Linked DNA regions of Homo sapiens: all the other regions are linked to region 2. The links are contacts of gene promoters, found by promoter capture Hi-C in blood cells and fetal thymus (Javierre and others, 2016). All regions are on one chromosome and are shown on one strand. Each heading gives the region's core, a stretch centred on a gene start or on the middle of the fragment in contact. The rest is flanking DNA. Distances are from core to core; before and after follow the strand shown.

Region 1 (5,061 bases), core at 1,511-4,010, 230 kb before region 2:
CTTTCCTCTTTGCTTTTGAAATTTTTATTTAGTCCTGAGTGGGGATGGGGTGGAGAGAAAGTGGACAGTGGGTGGTGGGAGATACAGGGAGAAAGAATGAGAATTGCTCTTGTTCTCAAGGGTACCGCATCACGTTTTCCTCTGGCTGGCAGTCTTTAACACCAGCGTATCCTATGAGACCTGACTTCACTCATCAGCTGCATCAGCTCAGTGTCATTACCACATGTAGACAGCAATGTAATCCTCCTTCTTAGAGATGCTGCAGCAGATTGGAGGGTGAAGAGATGTATCAGTCAGATCAGAGTAACCAGCTGGCTCCTGGCTCCTGATCATTGTCACAGCTCAGTAGCTGGAAGCTCCTTCCATATGGCTGATGCCTTTAAAAAAATCTCCTCAATCTCCATCCCCATCTGCAATACTGTTTAGTTATTCAATCATTTAAGTCATTCATGTATTGAAAAGAGGATGGGGATATGATCCCTCTGCTCTGTGGCAGTAGATCTACTAATGGGAGAGTCCTGGCCGCACATCTGGCCTGGGTCTGGAGGTGCCCTACGGAATTGAAAGCTGGCTGGAACTGTCATCTTAACATGTCCTGGTCATCTTAACGTGTCCACCTCTCTGGCAAGCCTCTTTTCAAGTCTTTTTGTTACCATCTTCAGCTTTTTCCCTCCATACTAGATTCTTAATGAATTGCTGCCAACAAGAGAAAGCTTTATACATGAAGAGAATGGCAATAAGAACTAACTCGTCTTTTTAATTTTAAAACTGGTATATATTCCTATATAATAGGAATGGAAGATACTTGCAAAGCCTATTTGTTCCTCTACAGAAGAGTTAAAAATTACCTGGGCTAATGGAAAGAAGGGAGAGTCAGCCAATTAGATGCTCCTGAATGCCCTGAATTGTGACTTACCTCTTCTTATCCACATCCTGATCAAGGAAAGGGATGAGAGAGAGGTGGAGAGAGAAGAAATGGAAATTCAAAAGTTTTGACGGCAGAGGAAAATTGTGCTTATTTCCAGAATGAGACGAACAAGGTCCTGGGTCCCTACATGTCATACTGGCTAGAGACTGGTAAGTAGAAATGACTTGTGGTCAGCAGAATAATGGCTCCCAAGGATGTCCACATTCTAATCCCCAGAATCTGTGCATGTGTTAGATTACATGGCAAAGGGGAATTAAGGTTGAAGATGGAATTAAGGTTTCTAATTGGATGCCCTTAGAACAGGGAGAGTAGTCAGAATTAATCAGGTGTGCCCCATACAATCACAAGCATCTTCAACATGGAAGAAGGAAGCAGAAGAGAGTCAAAGAAAGAGATGTGGACATGGAAGCAGGCAAGAGAGATGCCATGCTGCTGGCCCTGGAGGTAGAAGGGGGCATGAGCTAAGGAATGAAGGTGGCCTCTAGAAGCTAGGAAAGGTAAGGAAATGGGTTCTCTTCTAGAGCCCTCAGGGAAGAATGCAGCCTAGCTGACAGCTTGATTTTAACTCGGTGAAACCTGTGTCAGACTTCAGAGTTACAGAACTGTAAGATAATAAGTTTGTGTTGTTTTAAGCCACTAAGTCTGTAGTAATTTATTAGAGCAGCAGTGGAAAACATACATGGCTCTAGAATGTGTCTTAACAGAGGGACCTGAGGTAGTCTCCAAGAATCCCCAAAGATCTCAGGATAGATCAGGAATAGCCATTTTCTCATTCACAGGGAAACAGATTAACTGAGAGAAGCCATCAAGCCTGAAGAGACATCGTGTTTGAAATGTGTAAGGCACAGTGTACCCGCCGTGGATCAAAACAACCTGAAGGACAGACAGACAGACACACCGAGGATCAGCAGATATCAGTGGGGACAGGTGCTGATGATGGTGCAAATGAGAGTCATGAAGGAAAGTTAAATGATGACCAAAGACCAAGTACCTTCCCCACAATGCTTTGACAAGCGCTTTTATAAGCACCCTGGAATTTAGACACTACCCGGGGAGAAAAGGAAAGGGAGACAAGCATGAATTGTCTGAGAAACCCCTGAATTAATCATGTGTACCCCAATGCAACAAGGATCTAGATATAGAATAATTTTAATTATAGAAAACAAAATTATATTTTACCCACCCATATTTGATGCCCATGAATTTCACATCTACCTTACGTGCACATAAAATTCAAGCTTAGATAGACGGAAAACAAAAAATCAAGAAGCAATATTTGCCTTCTAATAACTTATCTATTGGAGGAGGTAAAAGATAGAAAAGTAGTTCAGATGACAAATACTAAAAGAGTTAGGAACTTCTGCTTCCACTTACGATGAAGGAACTTGTACTCAATCCATCCACTTTGTAATTCTCCTTGAGCTGCTGTAATAAAGTACCACAAACTGGGTGACTTAAAACAACAGAATTTATTGTCTCATGGTTCTGGAGCCTAGAAGTCTAAAATCAAGGTATCAACAGAGCTATGCTTCCTCTGAAACCTGGAAGGAAATTCTTCCTTGCCTATTCCTAGCTTCTGTTGATTTGCTGGCAAATTTTGACATTCCTTAACTTGCAGCTACATAACTTTAAACTCTGCCTTTGGCATTACATGGCATTTTCCCTGTGTGTTTCTGTCTTCCCACGGCTGTCTTCTTACAAGTACATCAGTCATATTAGGAGTCCACAGTGCTCCAGTATGACCTCATCTTAACTAGTCACACTTGCAATGACCCTATTTTCAAACAGAGTCACATTCTGAGGTACTGAGGGTTGGGATGTCAACATATCTTTTTCTGGGGGGATGGTGGGTATAATTCAATCCATTATACCCTCCAATAATAAACACCTAGAAAACTGGGCAATATACGTGAGATAATTGTTTTCTAATATTGGACAAGAGATGGCACAAAACTGTGATCCATAAGTGAAAGGAGACAAATGAGGTGCGTGCTGTGATCATTTCCGTTTTCTACCCAGAATTTCCTGGGTTACTGTACAAACAAGAGGGACCCAAGCAGAGCATGGCACCCTGAAATTCTTACTGAGCTGAGGACACAGCTCAGAGAAGAGGAGGCCATGCACGGAAAGAGCCCCGCAATTTTCATGAGGTCTCATTGAGTCTTTGGGTAAATACTAAGCTGGCATCCATTGGGTGAAACTCCACAGGGGCAGGCAAAGAATAAGTACTGGAGAATTAACAACTGCTGGTGAACTACAGTATGAATAATTACTAGATCTTGGTCGAGGCTGAGAGAGATACAGCTCTGAGCCATCAGAATAGCTTTGTTGAATACCTGGAACATTGAACAGGTATCCCAGGAAGCCCATAACTTAGAGTAGGACTCAAATGGCATAGAATAAGTCTACCGTCCATTAACCCTAACAAAGCTTAAAAGAGCCCTTGAAAGGAAAAGCAGACAAGTTGACCTGCAAGCAAGTCAACTGCCCACTAGAATAAAGCTCAACACTCTTTGAGAGAAGAAAACAAAATTCAGATAATAAAAAAGTAACATTCATAATGTTGAGCATCCAGTCAGAAATTATGGGATATACTTAAAAGCTGGAAAATGTGTCTATGCTAAGTAGTAATATTAGGCAATTGAAATCAACCCAGAAATGGCAGAGATGGTAAATTAAAATAATGGGACTTATAAATGGCTAATATACTAAAATGGCTATTATTAAATATGTTCAAGGATTTATAGTGAAACACAACATAATGAAGAATGAAACAGAAACTATAAAAAAGCTAAATAGAACTTCTAGATCTGAAAAATATCTGAAATGAAAATTTTGCTAGATAAGCTTAAGTTGGAGTAGACACTATAGGAGAAATGTCTATGAACAGGAAATCAGGACAACAGAAACTGTCAAAACAAGAGAGAGGAAAATAAAGCTAAACAACTACAAAAACTGGAAGAGGTCTCAGGGAACTCCCAAACAATATCAAGCCACCTAGCACACATATCATTGGAGTCTTCAACATAGAGGAGAGAAAGTGGTGGCAGAAAACAATTATTTTTAAAATAGTGGCCAAAATGTTTCATACATGATAAATAATATCCACCTACAGATCCAGGAAGCTTAGCAAAACCCAAGCAGGATAAGCTCAAAAAAGTTTGTTTATGAAAGAGATTACTTTCAGGTATGAGGCTCAGTTTAACTTTCACATAAGAGACAGACTCTGAGATGGTCCTTGAGAAGTCATAGGGTTTTAGACTGATAAAAATGACATTAAAAGGCAAGAAAGGATGAATGGTACAGAAATGACCAAAGGTACAGAGGCTGAAAGTACAGGACATCGGTGAAGAACAGTAAGAAGATGAACCTAAAGGGAGAGGAAGAGAATACATGAAGATAGGTTACAGTAGAATTTCCTAAAGCTTAACACATCTGTGTCTGAGGGAATTCTATGATGGGGTAACAGAGGCTGAATTTACCCTCAAACCTGAAACAATTAAAATGCATGAAATATATGAAACTCTGGACAACAGATGGCTCAAGACCGTGATCCCTGAAAGAAGTGAAATGAATAAAGTGAACCCTGTGATGGCCTCAGTTTATAGCCTGGAGATCTTTTTCAGGCAGTATTATAGGGAGGAGAAGCCCAAACAGCGCCTGGCAGTCTCTCTGAGTTAAGGAGACTTGCATTCAGGGTTTGAGGAGGCCAAAATGGCTAAAATTCCAGGGAAGAGACCCAGGGAGGAGAAAGCGGTGGGTGGGAAGTGCTCTGGAATGTGCATTGGACTCCCAGTGACTCTTCAACTGCTCTGACCAGTGAGTACAAGAAAACAACCTGAGGCTAGGGAGAGACCACTCGATGGATCAAGCAGAACCATCTCAAAGTCCACACGGGGCCGGGAAAAGATGGTGCTTCCATCAACCAGAGTGGGAGACCTCCTAACACAGAGGGCATTGAGGAGAATTCTCAGAAGCGGATCACCCCAGTCGCGGGAAGCAAATTTGCTGTACACTAAAGGCTGTCCTAGATACAACTTACAAAGCTCCAAAACAAGACTCAGAAATATCAAATTGTTTCTATGTAATCTATCTGCATCACAAAATAAAGTCCCAAATTTATTTAAGGGATA
Region 2 (4,508 bases), core at 48-2,547:
TACCAGTAATACCATTATTTTACAGCTGAATAAACGGGCTCAGAGAGAGTAAGTAACAAAGAAGAGCAGATTTACGGCCCGTGACAAGCAAGTCTAGAGCCAGAATTCAAACACAGGCAAGCCAACTCCATAGCTTACACTTTGCACCACGGCGGGAGGGGAAGTGCAATGGAGACGGCAAAGCAGCACCCTTGGGTAGACAGATTATGCCGTTGGGAAGCCTGATGACTGTGTGTGTCCTGGGAGAGCAGCCACTTGGATTTCCAGGCTCGCTCCCTGACCTGCTGCACCCTTTCTGCTCTCCATCTTTGCAAACACGAAGCAGAGGTCTCCTCTAAAGGAAGTTAATTTCTGGACTCAAAACTCTGACTTTCACTAATTTCATGATCATAGCCGGAGAAATGTGCACAAGCGAGGGTCCTCAGAGAGGCAGCTCAGAAAGGTTTGCAGGGACCCTTTAAAAAGGGTCTTGGGGCACAACCTCTGGGTGTGACATAGACGGATTAGCCTACATTTGGGGGCTTCTGGGTCACATGCACTAATGCTCTCTCTCCCTCTCTTTTTCTGTGTTCCTCCCCTTCCTGTATTTCTCTATTTGAATTTTTTCTGTTCTTTCTCTGGTCCTCTGTTGTTTCCTTCTTGTTTTCTCCCTAAATGTCAATGTCTGTTGCCATGTGGTCTTCCTTAATCTTTTCCTCTGTTTTTCTTTCTTCCCCCCCTTTTTTTTTTTCTTTTTTGAGATGGAGTCTCACTCTGTCACCCAGGCTGGAGTGCAGTGGCACGATTTCGGCTCACTGCAACCTCCACCTCCCAGGTTCAAGCGATTCTCATGCCTCAGTTTTGCAGGTAGCTGAGATTACAGTTGCCTGCACCTGGCTTATTTTTGTATTTTTAGTAGAGACAGGGTTTCACCATGTTGGCCAGGCTGGTCTTGAACTCCTGACCTCAAGTGTTCCCCCTGCCTCGGCCTCCCAAAGTGCTGGGATTACAGGCATGAACCACCATCCCCAGCCTTCTCTCTTCTTAATAATGGCTTTCTATGTCTTTCACTTCTCTCATACCCTCACTCTGTTTCTCCTTGACTCTCCCATTCCTGTTTTGTTATCTTTCTTTATTGCCGTTTCTTTCTGCTTTTCTGTTTATCACTCGCTGGCTACTTGCCTTTCTCTCTCTATTCTCTGTCTCTGTCCCTGTTTCTTCTGTTTCAAGTTCAATGGTTCTCTGTCTCTATCTCTCTGTTTCTGCCTCTCCGTCTGTCTTTTGTTTCTCTTGCATGCAGGGCCCCATACTGTGGATCATGGCAAATCTGAGCCAGCCCTCCGAATTTGTCCTCTTGGGCTTCTCCTCCTTTGGTGAGCTGCAGGCCCTTCTGTATGGCCCCTTCCTCATGCTTTATCTTCTCGCCTTCATGGGAAACACCATCATCATAGTTATGGTCATAGCTGACACCCACCTACATACACCCATGTACTTCTTCCTGGGCAATTTTTCCCTGCTGGAGATCTTGGTAACCATGACTGCAGTGCCCAGGATGCTCTCAGACCTGTTGGTCCCCCACAAAGTCATTACCTTCACTGGCTGCATGGTCCAGTTCTACTTCCACTTTTCCCTGGGGTCCACCTCCTTCCTCATCCTGACAGACATGGCCCTTGATCGCTTTGTGGCCATCTGCCACCCACTGCGCTATGGCACTCTGATGAGCCGGGCTATGTGTGTCCAGCTGGCTGGGGCTGCCTGGGCAGCTCCTTTCCTAGCCATGGTACCCACTGTCCTCTCCCGAGCTCATCTTGATTACTGCCATGGCGACGTCATCAACCACTTCTTCTGTGACAATGAACCTCTCCTGCAGTTGTCATGCTCTGACACTCGCCTGTTGGAATTCTGGGACTTTCTGATGGCCTTGACCTTTGTCCTCAGCTCCTTCCTGGTGACCCTCATCTCCTATGGCTACATAGTGACCACTGTGCTGCGGATCCCCTCTGCCAGCAGCTGCCAGAAGGCTTTCTCCACTTGCGGGTCTCACCTCACACTGGTCTTCATCGGCTACAGTAGTACCATCTTTCTGTATGTCAGGCCTGGCAAAGCTCACTCTGTGCAAGTCAGGAAGGTCGTGGCCTTGGTGACTTCAGTTCTCACCCCCTTTCTCAATCCCTTTATCCTTACCTTCTGCAATCAGACAGTTAAAACAGTGCTACAGGGGCAGATGCAGAGGCTGAAAGGCCTTTGCAAGGCACAATGATGAGCCCAGGGCCCAGGGGAACCTGGCCTGCCTCCATTGAGCAGTTCTGTGGGGAGGGAGACCTCCAGCAAGTGGGAAGAACACTGCTGAGTTTCTTTAGTTTTTTTCCCTCTGAGCAATAACTACAGTGAGCCCTGAGTGCTGCACTGTCTGGCCCAAAGCTCTTATGGACCACCATGGAAGAGTTCCCTACATCCCCTGGCAGCCGTAAGAACTCTGAGAGTAGCCCAGAGCTTTCAGTAAAGGGAAGTGCATGTGCTTTGCATTTAAGGAAGAGCAGCCAAGAAGTGCTCTATGATCAAGAGGTAGTGTCCAATCCCAGTATGTGTGCATGGGTGTGTATGTGTGTACATATGTGTGTATGCGTGTGCATGTTCCGGGTGTGCTTCTCTATCACAGTATGCACTGCTGCTGAGTGTATGCACCATAAGTGCTTGGGCTACATGGGATCAAGAGAAGAAGCAAAACTTACCAAAAACAAACTGATTGTTTTTCAATGTGTGTGTGAGTGTTGGGAGGAGGACTGGGTCCTTGTATAATTATTCATCCATTTATTCATTCATTTCTTCAACATTGAGTAGGCTGTGTGTGTCAGGCACTGTAACAGGTAGAGGGTAGAAAGGTAAAAAAGGCATAAATGGTTCTTAACCTGACAAAGCTCTTGGCCTAAGGAAGGAAAAAGTGATAAATAGCTGTTTCCAGCACAGTGGGGAACGTGCAACAGTGGATTCACAGACGGTATTATGAGCACACAGGGGAGCAACACTGAGACCAGGAGGAGGCTCAGCGACGGCTTCCTGACAAGATGACACCTGAGTAGCACATTGACTATAAGGTGGACACTGTGAGAGTGCAATTCATCAGGTACCTTTGCATCAGAGAAAGATGAAACAGAGAGAAATTAAAACAAGATAAATCTCCGCTAGTGAGGAATTATGTGGTTTCCAGAGAGGAAATATTCAGAGTTTTAGAAAGACAAAATAAACTTTGCTCCTGTATGATTAGAAACATTCATTTGCCTAAAGGCAAGGGATTGTAATAAACCTAGTAAGTTCACTTATTCAGTGATTATATATCCTATTTTACACACATACATATTATATTGTACATTACATAAAATATGAACATTATATTACATTCACATACGTGTGGGTATAAAATTCTTGAAAATCTATTATGTCCCATGCTGCCTTTGGAGTTAAACATCAGCTCCACTGTCCTCCCTCCTCCAACTATAGCCTGAAATTTTTAAAATCTTCCAGTTACTTTGACCTCAGGATCATGGTGTTCCCTTAGCTTTTGCCCATGCAGAATTTTCTAAAGTAGCCCCAATTTAAGTTGTTTTGACACACTGTTTCTGTAAGTACACTTTAATTTACCAAACTCCATATCCCAATTTGTGATATATAAACTACAACCAGGAGTTTATTCGTAGCTACACTTACTTGAAAACAATAAAACTACTAATTTATCACAAATGTCAAGCATTTAAAAAATCCACTATGTGGAAATGAATGAGGTAAGCTCATTTGGAGCTTGAGAGATGCAGCTTGCTTACCAACCCATTGGTTCTCCTTGTGACCTCCTCTTACCCCAAGCTAACTCCTTCCTAAACGAGGCATCCCTTTCTCTGGCTTTCTGAAAGTGTCTTTCTTTCTTGCTGAGATACCCCTTAGCCAAGTCGGAGGGTCTTTTCACATTCCCAGTTTCAGTTTCTGGACCAAAATTTTGCTTGTTCTTTAATTACATAACAGAGCAATGATTCTGTTGTTTGCAGTTGCTATTGAATGAATTGATGTTTTTTTCCTCTGTTTATTCTCTGCTTGCTACCTAGAAAAGTATTTGTAGAGTAAATGAAAGAAGGATGAGTAAATTAAGAATAATTCTACTAACAATATCTTACTTTTGTATACTTTTCATACTTTATGAACCACTTTTACATATATTTTCCATTTGGTTTTACCCTCATAGTAATTCAGTTAAATAAATATTCACTGATCACCCATCATGAGCAAAACACTCCACTCAGCAGTGGCTGTTAAAGATGAAAGAAATGAGGAGTCTGACCTCAAGGGGTTCCATGTACTGAGAGAAATTTAAAAGTGTGGTTAATTTCAATAAGGTGTTTTCCTATAGAGTATGAGAGCTCGGAAGGAAAATTTCTGATTCTGAAACTGCAGCAAGCGGTGTTCCCGACCCGCTTTAGCGGGTAAGGGAAACATGGCTGAGAGGAAGAATGAGTTGGTCAAAGAAATTGCAGAACCGACAG
Region 3 (4,824 bases), core at 1,227-3,726, 150 kb after region 2:
AAACTCATCAAGATATATACATTAAATATATACACCTTTTAGTATGTCAGTCATACCTCCAATTTTTAAAATCGAATGCATTTTATGCAGACAGGCAGAGCTGGGTCACATGGACACCCCTGCAAGGAACTCTGTGTGATAAATGATTTTTCATTGTGCACACTTCCACACTAAACAAAATTGATGTTTTTTTCAGGAGAAAGGGGAGAATGAACATGTCTTAGTAAATTTGTAGTGAATGTTCCACTTGATGAAAATTATGTAAGACCAACTCTGGGCTTACCAATTAAAATAACATGTTTTTTGTCGGCACTGAAATTTTTTCTTCTATTTAAAAAAAAAAATAATGTTTTTCCCTCCATTGTCTCTAACTTCACTACCTAAAACTTCTTTCAGTCAGATCTTAGACCTCCTGGGTTAAACAACTGTGTCTCTCATCTTTTCCTTTATCTTTTTCATGATTGAGTTTTGCTCTGAATTCTGAGAGATTACCTTGACTTCATCTTGTTTTTACTATAATCATATATTGCCTGGATGTAATTTTAAATCATACTTTAAATATCTGAAAGCCTGTTGTGTCTTTTTTACTTTGTTTTTAATTGGCATTTAACAATTATTCATATTTATGAGGTATAATGTGATATTTTAATACATGTATAAATTGTGTAATCATCAAATCAGGATATTTAATATATCTATCTCCTCATATAATTATCATTTCTTTACAGTGAGAACATTCAAAATTTTCCTATTTTGATGTTTGTTTTGTTTGTTTGTCTGTTTGTTGGTTTGTCTATTGCACAGGCTGTAGTGCAATGGTGAAATCTTGGCTCACTGCAACCTCTGCCTCCCGGGTTCAAGTAATTCTCTTGCCTCAGCCTCCCAGGTAGCTGGGATTACAGGCATGCATCACCACGCCTGGCTAACTTTTGTATTTTTTTAGTAGAGATGGGGTTTCACCACGTTGGTCAGACTGGTCTTGAACTGACCTCAGGTGATCCACCCTCCTTGGCCTCCCAAAGTGCTGGGATTACAGGCTTGAGCCACTGTGCCCCACCTTTCTAACTATTTTGAAATACACAACATTGTTAACTAACATAGTCACCCTACTGTGCAATAGAACACCAGAACTAATTCCTCCTATCTAACTGTAACTTTGTAGTCATTGACAAATCTCTCCCCATTTGCCCCCTAATCTCACTATCTTCCCCAGCCTCTGATAACCACTATCCTACTCTCTACTTCTATGAGATCAACTTTTTAAGATTCCACATATTGGTAAGATCATGCAGTATTTGTCTTTTTGTGCCTGGATTATTTCACTTAAAATAATGTTCTCTAGGTTTACCCATGTTGCCACAAATGATAGTACTACAATTTTTTTTTTTTTTGAGATAGAGTCTCACACTGTTGCCCAGGCTGGAGTGCAGTGGCACAATCTCGGCTCACTGTAACCTCTACCTCCTGGGTTCAAGCAATTCTCCTACCTCAGCCTCCCAAGTAGCTGGGATCACAGGCATGCACCACTACGCCGGGCTAATTTTTGTATTTTTAGTAGAGACAGGGTTTCACCATGTTGGCCAGGCTGGTCTCGAACTCCTGACCTCAGGCAATCTGCCCGCCTTGGCCGCCCAAAGTGCTGGGATTACAGGTGTGAGCCACTGTGCAGGCCGTATTCCAGTTATTTTTTATGTCTAAATAGTATTCCACTGTGTATATATAAAACACATTTTCTTTCTCTATTCACCCATTGGTGAACACATAGGTTGATCCCATATCTTGACTCTTGTAAACAGTGCTGCAATAAACATTGAGAGTTCAGATACCTCTCAGTGATTTCCTTTGGACATATACTCAGTAGTGGGGTTGCTGGATCATATGGCTAGTTCTATTTTTAACTGTTGAGGAATTTCCATACTGTTTTCCATAATGACTTACTAATTTACATTTTCACCTTCTCATTTCTTAATTGTTTATTTTTAATAGCATCCTTCTCTTATTTTATGGAGGCAATATCTTCTGTGCCTCCTCTAAGGACACAAGCTTAAATTTTTTGTCTTCTTTGATCTTTATTTCTTCAGGGGTAATTCACTCTTGGTGTTTAGCTTGGTCTTTCTCTTTCAGGCTGTGGATTTTGTTCCTATTTCTGATCATCCTTGATTAGTAATTCATGAAGGAAAAGGAAAGGCTGTTTTGGGTAAGCAGGTATCATTCTCCAGTAGAACGGTCTCCTGAATGGAAAGGCTGATTGGAAGCTCTCTTTTGTAACTGGGCCACCTTGACAGGCTGGCTCCTCTTTTAGGTATGTGGGTGTGGAATCTGACATTAGCCTGGAAATTCAAAATGCCATAATAAAAAAAGGGTTTAATCTATGTGCAAATATCTGCACTTGAAGCCCTAGTTCTTCCTTGGAAATGTATTCAATTTTTCTAGAAAAGAATTCTCAATATGAAGGTTTTCGATGGTTCTGTATGCAGTGGCAAGGAAGGCACTGGAAAGCATCAATGATGCAGCTATATGGCAGACAGAATTTTAATGATGCCTCTGGTTTTTGCACAATGTCTCGCTCCTGCTATCCAAAGCTAGGAATCCGATAGCCAAGGCCCTCCAGGCTTCTAGCAGCCTGATCAGCCACCACATTCCCAGAGGCCCATGACATGCATATTCTGAGCATCCTTTACTCCACTTCATCTACAATATGCTTTTTCTGATTGTCCACAACCAAGAAATAGGATGAAATCTCCAGTCTGCTCTTGGCCATCCTCATTCCCTTCTCTTTAGTGTTATGATATTTTTTTCTCTATGGAGTCTCAGAAGAAAGGGAAGTAGTGAACACATTATTTAAAAAATCAAATCAAAACCTTATACATACTTTTTTTTTATCATACAAGAACCTCTGGGTCTATTTCAGAAGCTTAATATTTGGTGCCCAAAATATTTTATCCTGGACAATCTTATATTGCACAAATCTTAATTCAGAGTCATAAAAGTCCCCCAAACTGGCTTTTTAAGCTGGTGCATAAACCCCATTGATGATAGTCTTATCCTATTTTTGTTTATGCTCATGTGCTTTCTCACCTGTTAAGAAACTTGCTAATTCTATTATGCGACTCTCTGGCAAAGCTTATCAAAGCTTCAAATTAATTAAGCAGTGGCAGCTCCCAATTTCCTTTTCTTACTGGCAAAAATTTGTTTCACAGAAAATGTTTAGAAAGCTTAAGTTGGTAACAGCTGATTGTTGACCTGGAAATAAGAGGTCTTCATCAATATGTTAAGCGGTCAGGATACTTAAAGAAAAACATCTATGGAGACTTCTTAGCATGCACTCTAGGCAAATACTTGCTGTCCTTCACCATTATTTCAGGATTTTTTTTTCCTAAAAGCATAAGAACAAACACATAAATGATAAAAGCAGAATTTAGGCCAACTCTAGCTTGCCTGCCAAGTAGGTAAGATGCGGTGGCAGAATACTGGCTACACTTGTGCCTGTATCACCATGGAGACCCTACTCTGACCATCAAATAATGGGATTCTAATGAGGAATGCTGCTGAACAACAAGCATGGCTGAGCACAAAGACAGAGCTGCTGGCATTGGAACATGGGAGTGAGCAAGAAAGGGGCAGCCCAAGGGAGAAGAAAAGGTGACACTGAACGTAGGTGTCGTGATGAGAAGAAAATAGGTTGCAGGTGGTGACTGCCTGGAGACCAGCCCAAATCACCTTCCACCTTTACGTGGAATCCAGGCTCAAAGCAGGAGGGACAAACTTGAGTGGGATAAATGTGACATGAAATGAGTCAGTTTGCCCAGAATATGTTTTTACCTATGAGGTGGATTGCATGGGATGGGGGAGGGGGGCTTGTAGGCAGGAGGGGCTGGGTCATGGAAATTAAATGAATTACTTTCCTAATGTGCATTGTTGTTTTTTTTTTTTTTTACACAATTGGTTCACAAAATAAAAAATTAATCCTTACTTTATGTATGAGCTCATCTGGGATTTTGAAATAGCCTCCTGATGCACATCTGTACTTAGACCAATTCTAAATCCTGGACTAGAATTTTGAGTAAAATCATCTCCAGGCAAGAGCCAGGACCAGTGAGAGCTGAGAGGCTCAAGAAGTGATGAGAATAGATTAGATGAACCCTCACTGCTGATATCAGAATTAGAAATGAATTATAACAAGGCTGAGTTTCAAAGAGAAATGCCCAGGATGGGGTCAGGATGCACCTTTCTCTCTCTCCATACAAGCTCTCCCTGAGGGGTCTCCTCTATTCTAAGTGCTCAGGTCCCCTCACAAGCCAATGGCTTCCAAACTTGTGTTTATCTCATCTCTTGCTCTTGATCTCCAGGCCTCTCTACCCACCAACAATCCCTTCTCCTATATATATATTTTTGGGCCCAAATTTTTGCTAAGTGAATTGTTCTGGCTCTAACTATCCTCTCCTTTGCAAATGAGAGGTCTTTCATTCTAAGAATTATCATGGGCCGGCATTTGTAGCTGACATTGAAAATAAACCTCCCCCCTCCCCAGAACTGCCTATAAGATGTGATTTTCTGAAAACCTGCAGGCCTTGGGAATGCAAATCAGAGAAAGATCCAATTGTCACCAACACTTACCAGGGAACACTGCCATTTGCATCTGCACTCCAGATCCCCGGTGGCTGCAAATATATCAGTGGCTCATTCAAACCAGAGCCCAGGCACAGATTGAAAGCTTGAGTGGAGGTGGATTTGGAAAGAGGAATGAAAAGGACACAGCTCTGGAAACTGGGGGGAATGAGCCCGTGTCACTGCCAAGATGGAAGGGTAGGCAGTGCATTCCCA
Region 4 (4,755 bases), core at 966-3,465, 170 kb before region 2:
TTACCGGGATGACGGAGATAAGGCAGGTGGTAGTACCTAGTACAGCACTGGGTTCTCAATCATTGTGTGCTCCTTTCTTCCATTAGCTCACCCCTCACTTGTCCATATTGTTCCTATTTACTTAGTCATCCCATGTTTATCTCAATGCCCCCATGCCTTCTCTTTGGTTGACGGCACAGATTAGGAAACTCCCCTTGCAGGCAATTTCAGCATCCTTCTGGGAAGTGCCCACCCAAAGAAGAGTCATTGCTCTGGACACCTGATATCCAGCAAGAAGAAGGCCAAGAAAGTGCGGAGGCCAGTAAGGAGATCAGGGCAGGGAGGGGGGATCCCTCCCAAGGGTGACATCAAGCCTTTCTAGCCAAAGTCTGCAGAGGCAGCCCCCATATGATCTGAGGAAAAGTGAGGGCAGACAGGACATGCGGAAGCAGCCTATTCTCAGCCACTCAGCGCAGGGCCTCCCCTCTGCTCTCCCCTGATATCGCACACAGGGAATCTCCACCACCCCTTCCAATCCCCCAGGCCTTTTTGCACTCTGTGCCTGGATCCCCTGGCCCTGGGGTCCTAAGAGTGGGAAGAGGATGAGTGAAGCCAGTGAGGACGACCTACTCTCTAACAACAATGCCATTCTGTTGCCCCAAGATGTCATCAGCCAAACATGTGCTCCAGTCCCCACTCTCCCAGGCCTTGGGGGAGAGGTGGGCGGCTGGAGAGATGGGAAGCCATAATTCACAGAAAGAGACCATCCCCAACCCAGAATCCTTCAGCAAAAGAAAACACAGGGGCCTCCAGGCAGCCTCCCCGGTCAGGCTAAAGCAGGCTCCTACTCTTGGGGTCAGAGAAAAACCCTAAGGCACAAAGACTTCAGGCTTTCCTCTATGACCAGACATCTGCCTCCTTCGTGACCCAGGGAAAGCCCCAACAGGCAGGACTTCCTTCTAGCATGCCACCAACTGGGTAGAGAACTCTATTAGAGACCTTGAAGAAGAGACCACATGCAGGGATAGCCCTGAGTTCCGATTCCCTGCTCCTCTCCTGCTCTGTACTCCAAGCTGTCATGGTGAAGAAAGCAGGACACGGGTTTAGGAAGTTTTCAGGGGCTGGAAGCCACCAGTGAATGTCCTTAGGGCTTAAACGCTAGAGTCTCGATTTCCACCACCTGAATGCGGAAGAGCACAGGTCCTCGGAACATCTGTTATTTTGACCCGCTTCCCCTCAGTCCCCACCCGCACTGAGAGAGAAATACACCTCAAGGTTGGGTTTGAGCGTTGTAGGTCTTCATATCCCCCCAGTGCTGGGCAAATAGTAAGGCCTTGGTCAGTGTCTGATGAGACAGATACATAGGAATGGTCACTTTTTTCACATTTTGTCTTATTTTCTGGTTCCTGGTGTCCGCGGTTCTCTCTGCTTCATTCATTCAATCGTTCACTCATTCCTCCATGCGAACATATGTATACTATGTGTTCCTGCCAGAGAGACTGTTCTAGAGGCAAGCAGTGGAGATACAGAAGGCATTGTCCTCACCTGCCGTCCCCTCTTGGGTGGAGGGGCTGTGATGCTCTATCCTTACAAGCCCCAGCAAGACGCCTGGCCCTTAGAGAAGTACTCACAAGAGGCTTGCAGAATCGAATTAGATCTTAAGATAGTGAACACCTGTGCCCATCTCAACCCCATCCTCTTTCACCAGCCCTACAGGCTGAGGCTCTTAAGACAGAATGCTCCCAAGGAGCCAGTCCGGGCCTGGGAGCACCATCTGTCCAGCCAAAGGTGCCAAACAAAGACGGGAGGTGAGGGAGGGGTGAGGGGTAGAGGTGCAGGCCTGGGGAGGTGGGGAAGGGAGCAGACCAAGGGGGCCTTACCTCTTCTGCTGCAGCAGGTTCTGCTCATCTCGGCTCTGGGCCCAGGACTCCCGTCTCTGGAACCATCTGCAGAACTTGCTCCATAGGCAGAGAATTAGCCCTTTCTCCTTGGGCAGTGACAAACCCATGGGGTGTAGGGCCGGCTCCTTGGGGGCCTGAGGCCGAGGCCAGACCCTGACGGGACTCAGCCTTGGGGCCACATCAGCCCCCCCAAGGGCCGGCCCACCGTCTCCCTGTAGAGGTCCCGTCTCCTGTCTCCTGCCTTCCTGACGAGTTCCTTGGGAGTCTCCCAGCAGCCCCAGCCAGTTTGGAGAGGGCTGTGAGTTTGTTACACTTGGCAGAGCCAGCCAGGACTCTGCAGGGCTGGCCTGTCTGGAGCTCCTGCTGGGAGTGAGCAGGAGGAGCCAAAGCTGCACGGACACGCCCTCCCTCCTCCCAAATTACCTGAGATTTAAAGACACAGGCCAGCCACAGACCTGCCTACCAAGGGGGACTTGTGCCAACTCCAATTCTTTCTCCACCCAGGGCTCTCTCCCTGCCCCCAGGCCAGTCACAACCAGGGAGGCCTTCAGAAAGACTGGCGAGGCCTCCCTTGGACGTCAGAACACCCAGTGACCTACCCTGAGAGACTCTAGGCAGTGAGAAAGGAGGGGAGGAGTCAGGGCAGGCCCATTCCCAATGTTGAGGACTCCCAGGAGGGAGCGCCCCACTTTCCCACAGTGCCTCTTCTGCCGACCACCTGCCTCACTCTCTGCCTCCCCCTGCTTATGTCCTGGAGAATTCCATTTTCTGGACTCTTCCAGTTTCATTCTTGCCAGGCCTGAAATAGGTATATAAATTGCGAAGATACTCAGTTCTCCCAGACTTTCCTCTCAGTCCCCATCACCTTTGGGTCAGCAAACTTTTTCTGGAAGGGCTGATAGGAAATGTAAAGATGTTAGGTTTTGCAAGCCATGTACACTCTCTAATGTACGTTATTCTTTGGTTTTGTTTTGGTGGTTGTTTTCTAACCACCCCCAAAGATGTAAAATGCATTCTTCGCTCACCAGCCAGGGCACAAAATCTAGCTCTGGGCAGACCCCCTGCTCAGGAGCTCCACAGACTGTCCACAATGCCCCGTGCATGGGGTGGGTGCCCGATAAAATACAGGACACGTGGTCAAATTTGAATTTTAGATAAACAACAAAGAATTTTTTAGTATAAATATACCCCACGTTTTGCAAGTATTCTATCTGCCAGCCTTCCCGTGGAGGTGACATTCAGCTGCTACTGTGTGCTGGGCCTTTTAACTGAGCGTTCCCAGGTAAACTCGTAACAAACCTGCAAGGCAGGTATTATTATCTACATTGTATTGATGGGAGAAACCAAAGCTCACCATGGTAAAGGAACTCTCCCAAGGCCATAGAGGTGGCAGAGGCAAGATTCACACCCATCCCTCATTCCAAGCCCACTTCTTTCTCCCTAGCACACCTCCTCATTCTAACTGGCCAACAGAGCTTCAGAGAGGTTAAGTGACTCGCACAGTCATACAGAAGAATGATGGCATTAAGCATGGCCCATCGTCTTCCCACAACAAAGAGCTCCATCATGAGCTTGCTGGAAGCTGTCGGAAAGGTCATTTAGTTCAACTTTTCCACTGGAAAGGGGCAGAAGCCCGGGCTTATCCAACCTCCTGGTGCCAGCCAGGTGCCAATAGCCTAGGGGCAGGTGTCTGGGTGTTCAGAGTCACAGGTGTGTGGATCACTTCCTAGCTTCAGAGTCTGTTTTGTCCTAACTTTCTCTGACTCAGAGTTGGAAGACCCAGCCAGGGGAGTGTGTGTGTGGCGTGTGTATGGCGTGTGTGCCCATGTGCATTTGTGTGTGGTGTTTATGCGTGTGTTCATGATGTGCATCGGTGGGGTGTTTTGTGTGTGGTATGCTGTATGTATATGATGTGCCTGTGGTGTGTTTGGTATGTGTCTACGTGTGTATGATATATGTGATATGTGTAGGTATGGCCTGTAGAGCGTGTGGATGTGGTGTCTGTGATGGTATGTGTGACATGTGTGTTGTGTATATACGTATTGTGGAAAGATTGTTGCATGTGTGTTGTGTGTATGGTGTGTAGTGGGTGATGTATATGGTACCTTTAAGGTATGTGTGCGTGTACATGATGTGTGTGTGTGTGTGTGGTGTATACATGATTTGTGTAGTGTATGGTGGGTTTACTATGTGTGTATGTATGGTGTGTGTTGTGTGTGTATGTATGTCATGGGGTGTGTGTCATATGTGCTGTGTGTGGGGGGAGTCGGTGTGTGGAGGGAGGTGGATGCTGAGGTAGGGCAGGGGAGAGAAGGACCCCTTCAAGTGGAAAGCTATTTGTGTTCCTGCCGCTGGGCAGAGGCCAGGCCACGCAGTCCTGAGCAAACAGTTCAATTGGATTAGCTTCGTCCCCACCCACCTGGGTCAGTGGGTTCGGGCTGGGTTGGGGGAAGGTGCTAGAACCCAAACCTTGAACCCCAAGACCTTTGTGCCCATTAAGCCAGTGGTTTGTCGCTTCAAAGACCTATTTAGCTTCAAAGACCCCAGTTTAGTGTCTGGTGGGGAAGGAGAGAAAGCAATGAGGCCTTCGTTACGCTGGGGAGAGAGGCTGGGGGAGGGAGGCTTTGGGAGGGAGACTTAGGGAGGGAGGAGGATAGGAGGAGGACAAAGTTGTTTTCCAATGCTCTTCCTCTTCCTCAGCCTCCTCCACCTGGTGTTGTGCATGGATCAGCCAACAGACTCAAAATTGGGGTGTCCAGATGGGAGGGGAGGACAAGTTTGCAGGATATAAGCTTCTGGCTGCAATGTTCTCTTGGTCTTTGGACCTAACATCGTATCAGTAAGGGAAGGTGGCCCTAGGGTAGGTGGCACTACC

Evidence for each region. The method cuts DNA at HindIII sites, captures the fragments that hold promoters and counts their contacts. A CHiCAGO score of 5 or more calls a contact.
Region 1: a fragment that was not itself captured here is called in contact with the fragment with the promoter of OR6V1 in region 2 in 1 of 17 cell types (neutrophils); the score reaches 5.1 in neutrophils.
Region 3: a contact is called between a fragment that was not itself captured here and the fragment with the promoter of OR6V1 in region 2, in 8 of 17 cell types (total B cells, naive B cells, M2 macrophages and 5 more). The highest score is 12.1, in total B cells.
Region 4: a contact is called between the fragment with the promoter of TRPV6 here and the fragment with the promoter of OR6V1 in region 2, in 5 of 17 cell types (erythroblasts, neutrophils, monocytes and 2 more). The highest score is 9.0, in erythroblasts.

The regions. Positions count from the first base shown.
Region 1 is chr7:142,815,049-142,820,109 of GRCh38, forward strand. It overlaps LOC105375541 (a long non-coding RNA gene), which reads left to right. Exons shown (of 2, transcript XR_001745392.2): 1 at 1-1,077; 2 at 1,708-2,388. Among named protein-coding and RNA genes, the nearest start is that of EPHB6, 37 kb to the right of the region's middle. The HindIII fragment of the contact is 1,192 bases long and covers 2,165-3,356 here.
Region 2 is chr7:143,051,044-143,055,551 of GRCh38, forward strand. It overlaps OR6V1 (olfactory receptor family 6 subfamily V member 1), which reads left to right and starts at 1,298. Exons shown (of 1, transcript NM_001001667.1): 1 at 1,298-2,239. The coding sequence starts at 1,298. The coding sequence ends at 2,239. The HindIII fragment of the contact is 11,126 bases long and covers 1-4,508 here.
Region 3 is chr7:143,200,098-143,204,921 of GRCh38, forward strand. LOC124901764 (a long non-coding RNA gene) reads right to left here. Exons shown (of 2, transcript XR_007060567.1): 1 at 3,079-4,824; 2 at 1,959-2,330. Among named protein-coding and RNA genes, the nearest start is that of TAS2R39, 19 kb to the left of the region's middle. The HindIII fragment of the contact is 871 bases long and covers 2,042-2,912 here.
Region 4 is chr7:142,883,530-142,888,284 of GRCh38, forward strand. TRPV6 (transient receptor potential cation channel subfamily V member 6) reads right to left here and starts at 2,216. Exons shown (of 15, transcript NM_018646.6): 1 at 1,860-2,216. The coding sequence starts at 2,107. The HindIII fragment of the contact is 18,692 bases long and covers 1-4,670 here.